Linked DNA regions of Homo sapiens: region 1 is linked to region 2. The links are contacts of gene promoters, found by promoter capture Hi-C in blood cells and fetal thymus (Javierre and others, 2016). All regions are on one chromosome and are shown on one strand. The core of a region is centred on a gene start or on the middle of the fragment in contact, and the rest is flanking DNA. Distances in the headings are between cores, read along the strand shown.

Region 1 (5,849 bases), core at 1,567-4,066, 260 kb before region 2:
AAAAAAATAATAAACCAAGGAAACTTCTAGAAATGATTTTAACTTACCATTTCATTGAATGTCGGATTCCTCGTTTTTCGTGAAATTTTGGTTTTACGTTTGGATGTTTTGTGGTTATCTGGAAGTAGGTATGTTTTGACATATGGATTTGGGTCAGCTCCATCTTCAGTAACCTAAAAAGAAAAGCAGTCCCTTAATAGTAATGCTTCCTACCAAGGTAAGGGTTTCCTCTACAACCATCATTCTTTGTAATCACTCACAAGATCTTTGATATGCATCACCATGATGAAAAGAGTACCATTTCGGTAAGAGATGGATAATTTCACAGCTCCTCCTATTTGGCCTGGAGTAGGACTGAAGGAACCTGCATCTGAAAATACAAATATTTTCATCTTTATTTACTGGTTGTAGTGGTTCAAGCTGCAATAAAAGGATTTTGCTTTATTTTCAAGACTGTCACATGTGGTGCGGACAGAAGGGAGGGGAAAAAGGAGTAAACAACCTGATAGGTCATTGATTTATACTTCTTTAGTAATCACATCTATTAGGAAAGTTATATTTATTCAGAAATAGACTGGCTTAGAAAGAATACTCTCCTCCCATTCTCAGACTACAGCTAGTAAGCCTGCTGTCATTCTACCACATTCATCGAGAAGTTACAGACTTGCAGATCATGAGTTACCAATAAAGAGAAAAAAAATAATCTCACCTGCAGACCTAGCTATCCCTTCAGCTTTCTCATCACGAAGTAAAGGGTGGAAGAAAGTACAAACAAGATCACACTAAGAATAAAGAGAAAGCAATTCATTAGTTTAAATATTATGTAACACAAAAGGTATAAGATGTTATTACTTCTCATTTAGTAAGGTTACCTCTGCTACATCCGTTGAAGCATTCATCAAACTCTGTAAGTAACTGTTTAACTCAATTTTCCTTTTGGCTGCTACATCTTTTATGTGTGTTCTTCCTAGAACCATCCTATTAGGAAAGCTACAAAAGAAAAACAAAAACAAGTGGGATTTAAATAAGTACAATATTTCCTTAGAAATACACTTTTTCATATATACTTAAAGACAAAGTAGTCTTAATCCATTATAAAGTAATATTTTGTGGCCGGGCACGGTGGCTCATGGCCTTTGGGAGGCCAAGGCGGGTGGATCACTTGAGGTCAGGAGTTTGAAACCAGGTTGGCCAACATGATAAAACCCTGTCTCTACTAAAAATACAAAAATTAGCGTGCTGATGCCTATAATCAGATACCTATAATCCCAGCTACTCGGAAGGCTGAGGCAGAAAAATCACTTGAACCTGGGAAGCGGAAGTTGCAGTGAGCCGAGATCACTTACACTCCAGCCTGGGTGACAGAGCAAGTCTCCGTCTCAAAATAAAATAAGTAATTTTTTGTGATTTCTCTTCAAAGTATTGGAGATGACATCGTTCAGTCACCCATTATCCTTTTATGAGCCTTGGTTGAAAAGGTGTATGTGTTGATTTCCTATATTTATTATTAGCTTGGTGCAAAAGTAACTGTGGTTTTTGACATTAAAAGTAATGGCAAAAAACGCAATTACTTTTGTACCTACTTAATACTTATTTTCTAATATTTCTTCTCAAGTTTAATCACTCATAAATATTTTATCCAGATCTGATCCCTAAAAAATAAAATCACTACTCAATCAGCCATAAATATTACATATACCAGTAAAATCCACAAATAATAACATAAGGCCTAAGTAAGGTGCTGAAAGGATAATCTTAATTCCACTTATTTTGGTGGCAGTGGAAAAATGAAACTGTACACGGAAACAAACTCTAATACCCACTTCACCTCATCCTCACTTTTGAAATCTAGTCTGAAGAAAATATGAAAAAACTCGACACAGGAAATCTACTGGTCATTGAGCTACATTAAAACTGAAGACTCCCAAAGGGTATCAGATACAAAACTAAGATTTTGATTGACAGTCTCGATGATGTTTGCTTGTTATTTATTTTTTTGAGACGGAGTCTCGCTCTGTTGCCCAGGCTGGAGTGCAGTGGTGCCATCTCAGCTCACTGCAAGCTCCACCTTCTGGGTTCACGCCATTCTCCTGCCTCAGCCTCCCAAGTAGCTGGGACTACAGGCGCCTGCCACCATGCCCAGCTAATTTTTTGTATTTTTTAGAAGAGACGGTTCACCGTGTTAGCCAGGATGGTCTCCATCTCCTGACCTCGTGATCCGCCCGCCTTGGCCTCCCAAAATGCTGGGATTATAGGTGTGAGCCACCGCGCCCGGCCATGCTTCAGTTTTTTTAGCAGAGGAGCTCAGTATGGCCCATGATAGATTATTTCTACACTGATTTAGCATATGACTTTTTTTTTGGGGGGGGGGGACAGGGTCTCATTCTGTCACCCAGGCTGTAATGCAGTGATGTGATCTTCGCTCACTGCAACCTCCACATCCTGGTATCAATCAATCCTCTCACTTCAGCCTCCTGAGTAGCTGGGACTTCAGACATGTGCCACCAGCCCAGCTAATTTTTGTATTTTTTATAGAGATGGGGTTTCGCCATGGTGCCCAGGCTAGTCTCCAACTCCTGGACTCAAGGTATCTCCCTGCCTCGGCCTCCCAAAGTGCTGGGATTATAAGCTTGTGAGCCACCACACCTGGCAGGATATGACTTTTTTCAAAACCAAGATGCCAAATTATTATCTTGTGTTGCTTACTATGGTAGAGACAGCAAAGTTAAAGCTTCAATAAGAGTTAGAAGTCTGAAAATCTCATATTTTAACATCCCGATCATTTATTCATTCAACAAAAACTTCCAGTTCCTTGTTTATGTCTGCTTTTGTATTAGGTCTTTATGACACAAAGGAAAATAAGCCACACATGGCCGATAATATCTTACTAAGTGTTAACACAAAGCTTTCTACCTACATTTGATAACAAGTTGTTTCCTACAAAAAGGATTAATGTACAAGGATGAATACATACCCTGGTAACTTCCAAAGTGGAAAAATAATACTGAGCTTATTGTGAAGTTCCTGAAATTCGTCAAATGTTCGGAAGACAAATGATGGTTCAATCTGTCCTTCCCTCAAAATTCGGACTACATAAATCTGAAAAGAAATCACACCACAAACACATAAAATTTATATTTAAAACCTTCTTTCCAGGCCGGGTGCAGTGGCTCATGCCTGTAATCCCAGCACTTTGGGAGGCCGAGGTGGGTGGATCAGCTGAGGTCAGGAGTTTGAGACCAGCCTGGGCAACATAGTAAAAGCACGTCTCTACTAAACAAACAAAAATTAGCTGGGCATAGTGGTGCGTGCCTGTAATCCCAGCTACTTGGGAGGCTGAGGCAGGCAAATCACTTGAACCTGGGAGACAGAGGTTGCAGTGAACCGAGATGGCACTGTACTCCAGCCTGGGCAACAGAGCGAGACTCCATCTCAAAAAAACCTTCTTTCCTATATTGATCTTAGCTAAAAGACCAAGAAGCAAAAAAACCTCCTTTCCTGACAGAAAAGAAATTTATAGCTTAATTGTTATATGCAGTTCAAGTACTTTTATCTTGGTAATATATATGTCACCAATAGGAAAAAGCAAATATAAGTCATTGTATTTATAACACATCTAACTACATTTTAAGAGTGATCATAACCATCCTAAGATAGATAAACTAGAACTTAAAAGTGTAAGCTGGGCACGGTTGCTCATGCCTATAATCCTAGCACTTTGAGGGGCCAAGGTGAGAGGATCATTTCAGCCCTGGAGTTAGAGACCAGCCTGTGCAACATAGTAAGGCTCTGTTTCTATAAAAAATATAAAGATTAGCCAACTGTGGTGGCACATGCCTGTAGCCCCAGCTACTTGGGAAGCTAAGGTGGGAGGATCAACTCAGCCCAGGTGTCAAGGCTACAGTGAGCCAAGTGAGCCAAATGAGCCAACACTGCATCACTGCACTCCAGCCAGGGTAATAGAGCGAGACCGTTTCTCAAAAAGTAGAAATAAAAATAGTCCAGGCAGCCGGGCGCAGTGGTTCACGCCTGTAATCCCAGCACTTTGGAAGGCTGAGGCAGGTGGATCACAAGGTCAGGATATTGAGACCATCCTGGCTAACATGGTGAAATCCTGTCTCTACTAAAAAAAAAAAAAAAAAAAAATACAAAAAATGAGCCGGGCGTGGTGGTGGGTACCTGTAGTCCCAGCTACTTGGGAGGCTGAGGCAGGAGAATGGCGTGAACCCGGGAGGCAGAGCTTGCAGTGAGCTGAGATCACACCTCTGCACTCCAGCCTGGGCAACAGAGCAAGACTCCGTCTCAAAAAAATAAAAAAATAAAAAAATAAATAATAAATAAAATAGTCCAGGCATGGTGGCTCACATAATCCCAGAACTTCGAGAGGCCGAAATGAGTGGATTACTTGGGGCCAGGAATTCGCCTGGCCATGTGCCTGGGCAACATGGCGAAACCCCATCTCTACTAAAAATACAAAAATTAGCCGGGTGTGCTGGCGCATGCCTGTAGTCCCAGCTAGCCATTCAGGAGCTGAGGCATGAGAATTGCTTGAACCTGGGAGGCACAGGTTTCAGGAGACGAGATTGCGCCACTGCACTCCAGCCTGGGCAACAGAGTGAGACTCTTTTATATTTATAAAATAAAATAAAATAACATAACATAAAATAAAATAAAAATAAATAAAAAGTCAGTTAAAAAAAGGCAAAAGGTTTATGGGGGGTAGTGAAGGAAAACTTGTTTTGCTGGCTAGTTAAACTTTTTTTTTTTTTTGATACAGCGTCTTGCTCTGTTGCCCAGCCTGGAGCGCAATGGCACAATATTGGCTTACTGCAACCTCTGCCTCTCGGGTTCAAGCGATTCTCCTGCCTCAGCCTCCTGAGTAGCTGGGACTACAGACACATGCCACCACATCCAGCTAATTTTCATATTTTTATTAGAGACGGGGTTTCACCATGTTGGCCAGGCTGGTCTTGAACTCCTGACCTCAGGTGATCACCTGCCTCGGGCTCCCAAAGTGCTGGGATTATAGGCATGAGCCACTGCGCCCGGCCTATTTAAACTTTTATAAAGTTACAATACTTTAAAGCATATAATACTGGTGCCAAGTAGGATCTATCTATAGCAGGCCAGAAACAAATTTGGGGATATATATATAAACTTAAAGGTAGTAGTATATATTGGGGAGAGAATGGACTATGCAATAAAATGGTGTTAGGATAACTTTAATAAACACACAAAAAGATACTAAAATTTATTAACAGAATAGATGAAAAACAGTAGTAAAATAGCTTTTTAAAGACTATCTATTTGCCAAAAATTTAAAAACTGGCAGTTCTGGAAAGTATTATCTAACAAAAAAGGTAGCACAAGGGTGAAAAGTAGCAACAAAAAAGATAACACTACAGTCTCGAAGAGGAAAAAGCATGCTGAAGTTCCTGTATCTGTTCAAAGACAATGTGTGCGTGTTTTGTATCAGAGACTGGAATAGGAACTTTGACTTTTTACTTTACATACTTCTCTATTGATTAAATTTGTTACAACAAGCACACTTTACCACTCGGTCCTTATTGTTTGAAGCAAATATAGCAAGAATTAAATACCAAAAAAGTTAGGGATGCTTCAAGTACATTTACTTATTTATGGACCATTCATGAAAGAAACAAGCATGAATAGAACAAATGCTTGCAACTTTAGCAGAATCAGCAAAGGAAGTAGAAAGGACAACAATAATACATGCATGATTGTTTATGAATATTGAAATCAAACTTACATAATGTTTATCTGGGTTGTATTTCTTATGATATGTAAAAACAGAGACTTCCTTGATTCGACCATCTTGTCTAAAGGAG
Region 2 (5,673 bases), core at 234-2,733:
TGAGCTGAGATCACGCCACTGCACTCCAGCCTGGGCAACAGAACGAGACTCTGTCTCACCAAAAAAAAAAAAAAAAAAAAAAAAAAAAAAAAGATGTTCAAATAGACATGATATTGGTAAAAACGAAAACACAGGTAATGACTTTTCATTCTAATGAAATATAAATAGAGAAACCTGCCGGTTTTACCCTTTAGAGTAAAAAGGGTACAAAAAAATTACCAAAACAGTAAAAATTACCAAAAGAGTAATTTGATAATTTCTACAGGGTGATGTGTATGTGTCACAACTTTGTGAATCACTATTCTGGGCATGTATAAGAAGTCGTCATATACCTCCATTGGGAATGTTATTTAATGATGTCACTAATACCAGACAAGGATGTCTCCTCAGGTAAGGCTCCTTGGAGGAGGCAGAGGTTGAGAAGAGGTGTAATTTAGGTTTTAAAAATTCAATAGCTGGACTTAACCTTGCATATCTCTACCTGTTATAACGGTGGTCCGGAAGGCTGCGATCTGAAGGCCCCTCAGCTAGTTGCTGCCACTGTGGGCACTCTGCGCATCTTTCACTTCTGAGCTCTTTCTGTATGCACTCTGTTCTGCAGATAAGTGAGAATGTGACTATTTGCTTAGTCAGTGACAGTGTCTCTAACCCTGGAAAGGAAGCTTTTACTCTCTCAGTTTTAGAGACATGTGAACAGGCTGGGGATATGAGGTCACTTACCCACTGTCTTATAATCAGCAGATGGCATGGTTGGCATTGGAGTTTAGGTCTGTCTGTGCTTTTCTGTACATTACATCCTTTTTAATGATGCGAAGGAAAAATGCAGTAGGGTCAATGAGACAAATGGAATGCAGGTTGCTGGGGAAAGAATGCAGGTTCTGCGTTATAAATGCACACACATTTACTGTGCCACTTGGGTTCTGAACTTTGCGGTTAAATTGATTTAAAAACTGGTGTAGAGGTGGTAAAACTTAATCACCGAATGAGAATATTTGGGTTTGCTTCAGGAGGTCGCAAGCCACTTCTTGATTAGTAGAAATGGGAAATTAAGGGCCACCTTCAGGCGTTTAACTGAATTGTCCTGGGGATTTAATTTGCCTTTCGACTTAATGCTAAATTTTTGTTGTTTTTGGTTTTTAAAGTAATGTAAGTTTATCGCGCCAACGGTAAGATGTCGCTCTGGACGCGTGCACCTGCTCTCGCAATCACCGACTGCGGTCAGCATCTTCCTTAGAGCAGCGCCCCGGGCCACTTGGATCCCGGTCTCAATTTACTAAGCGAACCCAGAGGATGCCCCGAGTCCTGGACCGCAGAGCCGCTCGCGAGAGGCACCGGGGCTGTAACCGCGCAACCTCGTGCCGCGGGCGGAGGCGAGGGAGGATTCCCCGGCCGGTGCCCGCCCCCGGGCTAAAGTGCGGCGCGGGTGGGGCTGGTCACGCGCCTGGCTTCCTGCAGTGCGAACCTGGGAAATCCAGGCGACTTCGCAGTTGCCGAAGGGATCTGAAGAAGTGGGATGTGCAAAAGCGCCGGCTGGAAATCCCGGCTGTGTCTCCGTCAACTCTTTACGCAACAGAGGTCTCCCCCTGCCCTTGGTTTCTACCGGGCCGCCTGCTCCCACTCGGCGAAAAAAATTACACAACAGCAGCCGCGGCGATGACGTGGAGGGCTGCCGCCTCCACGTGCGCGGCGCTCCTGATTCTGCTGTGGGCGCTGACGACCGAAGGTAGGGGGCGGCTGGGGTGGGCTGGGGCGGGGGCTCCTGGCGCCAGAGGGTCCTCGCGGGTCGGCTCCCTAGCATCCCGCCAGGGGACCTCAACTTCCTGGGGGCTGAGAGCTCTATTTTCTTTTCTATTTCTTCTCCTTTTTTTTTTTTTTTTTTTTTGAGACGGAGTCTCGCTCTGTCTCCCAGGCTGGAGTGAAGTGGCGCGATCTCGGCTCACTGCAAGCTCCGCCTCCCAGGTTCACGCCATTCTCCTGCCTCAGACTCCCGAGTAGCTGGGACCACAGGCGCCCGCCACCATGCCCGGCTAATTTTTTGTACTTTTAGTAGAGACGGGGTTTCACAGTGTTAGCCAAGATGGTCTCCTTGACCTAGTGATCCAGCCGCCTCGGCCTCCCAAAGTGCGGGGATTACAGGCGTGAGCCCCCGCGCCCGGCCTGGGGGCTCTATTTTCAAGCGTCCCTCCTTTGTGAGAAGCGGAGTCCCCGATGCAACAGGTTTACATTGAAGGCCTGCCCTGTGCAGGGTCGACACCTGTGAGAGCGGAAACGGTGCTTCCTTGGATGTCGCGCGTTTGGTGCCTCGGTATTTGGCGCCTCTCTCGCATCATCCGAGGGGCCGGAGGAGAGAAGAAAATCAGGGAATCGGTAAATTGGAAAAATCATTCATCCGCATATCAGTGGGTCCTCCTGGCTTTGCTAAGTTAGGTCTTTACTGAGAGAGGGAGGGGAGTGTTTTGATCTTGTGGTGACCTTCAAACGTTCTCTTGCTTTTTTGGGAACTCGTATGGGCGTGTTCTGCGTTAACTTAAACAGGAGACTAAAAGGCTGAAACGCGTATGTAGAGATATTTAAACTCATTTCTAACTAGAAGAATGGCAATTAAACAACAAGATGCTGCTTGACCCTTACTAGGCTGGCCAAAATACGCTCCTGGGTGCCGGGTGGTGGAGGTGGAATGTAGGAATCCCGGAGGCGCGCTCTGGGCGCCCCGAGTCACTGCAGGTGGAGGAGAGCCGCGTGTGGACCTCACCGTGGAGACCTTGGCGGCAGCTTCACACCACGCCCTTGCTGCTTGCCGAGCAGCGTGAACGGATGTTGAAGGCGTAGAGCCAAGTAAACAGTGGACATACAATGCAATACCATTTCCACAGTTTGAGAAACAGAAGATACAGCCTTAAAGAGAACAAAAATTACATGTTAAACACCTTAGAATGGCTGCCCGATGGGAGAGGGAAGTGGAAATAAAAACGAGTGAATAGTATTTCTATACATTTGCAATAAGCAATGTGAAAATAAGACAGTTCCGAGTGAAGTGTGGGCGGTGAAGTGGAAAGCCAAAATTGCGCTTGTCTCCGCGCTGCGGACTTGAAACGCCTGTCACTGCGGTCTGGAAACGCCTGTCGCTGCGGTCTGGAAACGCCTCCGCGCTCTATCAGTCTGGGTCTCCTCGAGCTCGAAGTGGCGCCAGTGGGCTGCCGCCGCGCCCACCCGGTCCCATGCCCGTCCCGCGCCCCCTCCCGGGCCCGGCGCCCCCTCCTCAGGGGCCTTGGGTCCCCGCCACTTTCGTCCGGTCTCGGTCCCCGCGGATGCTGGTGGTGGTGGAGAAGGGCCGCGAGTTCTCAGGGAAGCGGAGAGGGAGGAACGCCGTTTGGCTGTGCGGCGGCGCCCAGTGACGGCAGCAGCAGCAGCAGCTCCTGGAGGAAGCTAGTTCCGGCTCGTCCAGCCACGAGGAGCGCGGCGGCGGCTGCATGAGGGTCGGACCCCAGAACCAGGCGTTGGTGCTGGACTTTGGCACCGGAAGAGACTGTGAAATGGAAAACCGTTTCGGAAGCTTTCGCCTAACAAATCATTTCCGCCTACAAGAAATTCCTACACCTTAGGATGGAGCATCTGTTTGCCTGGCTGCTATTCTGCGTGGAAGCAAATTTAAAGTGGTACAAGAAAAAAAAAATCCAGTCATACAAAGGAATTCGTCAGATTTTAATGCAAGAGATTCTAGCCCGTCTTTGTATGAGAATGTCTTTAAAGGTTGTTGATATAGAAAATGTTTTAAAGAACGTTAGGTTTTATTTCAGAAATGAAGTTGAAAAGAGCAATTTGTAAAGCTGTAGTTAACAGTCCTCCCTAGTTGGAGAGCTCTAGAACTGGAGGTTCTCTATGTAGGTTATACCACTAGTTGATTTGAAAAGATAAATGCATAAATGCTTTTCCTTGGAAACAAGACTGCAGAAAATTCCAAGGATCTAGTCCTTGAAAAAGGCGAATGCTGTTAAGCTGTTAAGGTACTACACTCTGTACCTTTAAATGAAAATACATGGAGGTCCTGGGTGAGCGCTTGGGCGCTCTGAAAATAGACGAGGTTTCCCAAATTTGCCTTCTAAATTTTGATTTGTTGATTTAAATCTTCTAAATTTATGTAGTCTGGCACTCAGGTTTGTATTCCTTTTAAGCACATGTTAGTGTTTTTGATATTTTCCCTTCTCCCTCCGACCCCCCAATTCTTCTTCTTTTTTTTTTTTTTTTTTTTTTTTTTTTGGTAGTCACTTTTCGTTTTTAAGAGTGACAATACAACTAGGTGGCCTGGCTGTTTCATATCCTTGGTTTCTCCATTTCTTGGTTGGCCACCAGGGGGAAGCATACTGTTTTTTTGGTTACAGTTGACCCTATCTTCATTTTGTAGGTCAAGTCTGTTTTTGCTTTGATACATAGAACAGAAAGCTTGTCACCGCGTTTCCCTAATGTATTATTTTAAAAAATAGACTTGCACAAATCTTTGAGTAAGTTGGCAGGTTTTTGGATACATTTTTGTTAACATTAATTTTGAAAACTTTATTTAGATATGTTGGATGTGACTAATGAAAGGACATGTTTGATGGCAACAAGGGGAATTCGGTTTCTGACATTTATCTAAATATAGATGTCTAGCTCTGCATTGTTAGTAATGAGTCTGACTTCTTTGGAGTTGTACTCTTCTTTGAAATAGCAAATGTAATATTTTGAACTGTCCTTGCACTTTTTGTTGGAATAGGTATAAGCGTAAACTTGCTAGCAACCTACTGTTCTAAAATGGAAAACATCTAGCCAGTCGCAGTGGCTCATACCTGTAATCCCAATACTTGAGGAGGCAATGAGAGGATTGCTTGAGCCCAGGAGTTAGAGACCAGTCTGGGCAACTTAGTAAGACTCCATCTCTACAAAAAATGAAAAAATTAGCTGAGCATGGTGGCATGTGCCTGTAGTCCCAACTACTTGGGAGGCTGAGACAGGAGGATCACTTGAGCCCAGGAGGTGGAGGCTGCAGTGAGCAGTGATAGCACCACTGCACTCCAGCTTGGGTGACACAGCGAGACCCTGTCTCTAAATAAATAAATAGGAAAACATCAAAAAAAAAAGAGAAAATTCTCTTTACAATAGCATCAAAAGATAAAATACTTATGAGTAAATTTAACGAAAGAAACAGAAAATATATACTCTGGAAACTGTAAAATATTGCTGAAAGAAATTTAAAATCTAAATAAATGAAATGGAAAAATGTCCTGTCTTAGTCTTGCCAGGCTACCATAACAGATATATACTGTGTGGCTTAAACAGAAATTTATTTCTCATGATTCTGGAGGCTGGGAAGTCCAAGAGGAAAGTGTGGATGATCTGGTTTCTGGTGAGAGCCTCATTTCTAGTTTATAGAAGGATACCTTCTTGCTGTATCTTTACGTGGTGGAGAGAGACATATCTCTCTGTCATGTCTTTTCTTATTTATTTATTTATTTGTTTGTTTTTGAGACAGAGTCTCACTCTGTCACTCGGGCTAGAGTGCAATGGCATTATCACGGCTGACTGCAGCCTTGAACTTCTGGGCACAAGGGATCCTCTCACCTCAGCCTCCCAAGTAGCTGGGACTACAAGTGCTAACCACCATGCTGGGCTAATTTATTTTTATTTTTTTGTAGAGAC

Evidence for each region. The method cuts DNA at HindIII sites, captures the fragments that hold promoters and counts their contacts. A CHiCAGO score of 5 or more calls a contact.
Region 1: a contact is called between a fragment that was not itself captured here and the fragment with the promoter of NCR3LG1 in region 2, in 5 of 17 cell types (naive CD4 T cells, activated CD4 T cells, M1 macrophages and 2 more). The highest score is 7.9, in naive CD4 T cells.

Annotation. Positions count from the first base shown.
Region 1 is chr11:17,091,287-17,097,135 of GRCh38, forward strand. PIK3C2A (phosphatidylinositol-4-phosphate 3-kinase catalytic subunit type 2 alpha) reads right to left here. Exons shown (of 33, transcript NM_002645.4): 27 at 5,771-5,849; 28 at 2,975-3,099; 29 at 873-990; 30 at 710-782; 31 at 261-370; 32 at 48-173. Among named protein-coding and RNA genes, the nearest start is that of RPS13, 17 kb to the left of the region's middle. The HindIII fragment of the contact is 174 bases long and covers 2,730-2,903 here.
Region 2 is chr11:17,350,317-17,355,989 of GRCh38, forward strand. NCR3LG1 (natural killer cell cytotoxicity receptor 3 ligand 1) reads left to right here and starts at 1,484. Exons shown (of 5, transcript NM_001202439.3): 1 at 1,484-1,723. The coding sequence starts at 1,654. It overlaps LOC105376576 (a long non-coding RNA gene), which reads right to left and starts at 1,550. Exons shown (of 3, transcript XR_931094.3): 1 at 1,463-1,550; 2 at 721-858; 3 at 497-595. RefSeq lists a silencer at 1,306-1,425 and enhancers at 1,422-2,023, 2,024-2,625, 2,850-2,899. The HindIII fragment of the contact is 2,891 bases long and covers 661-3,551 here.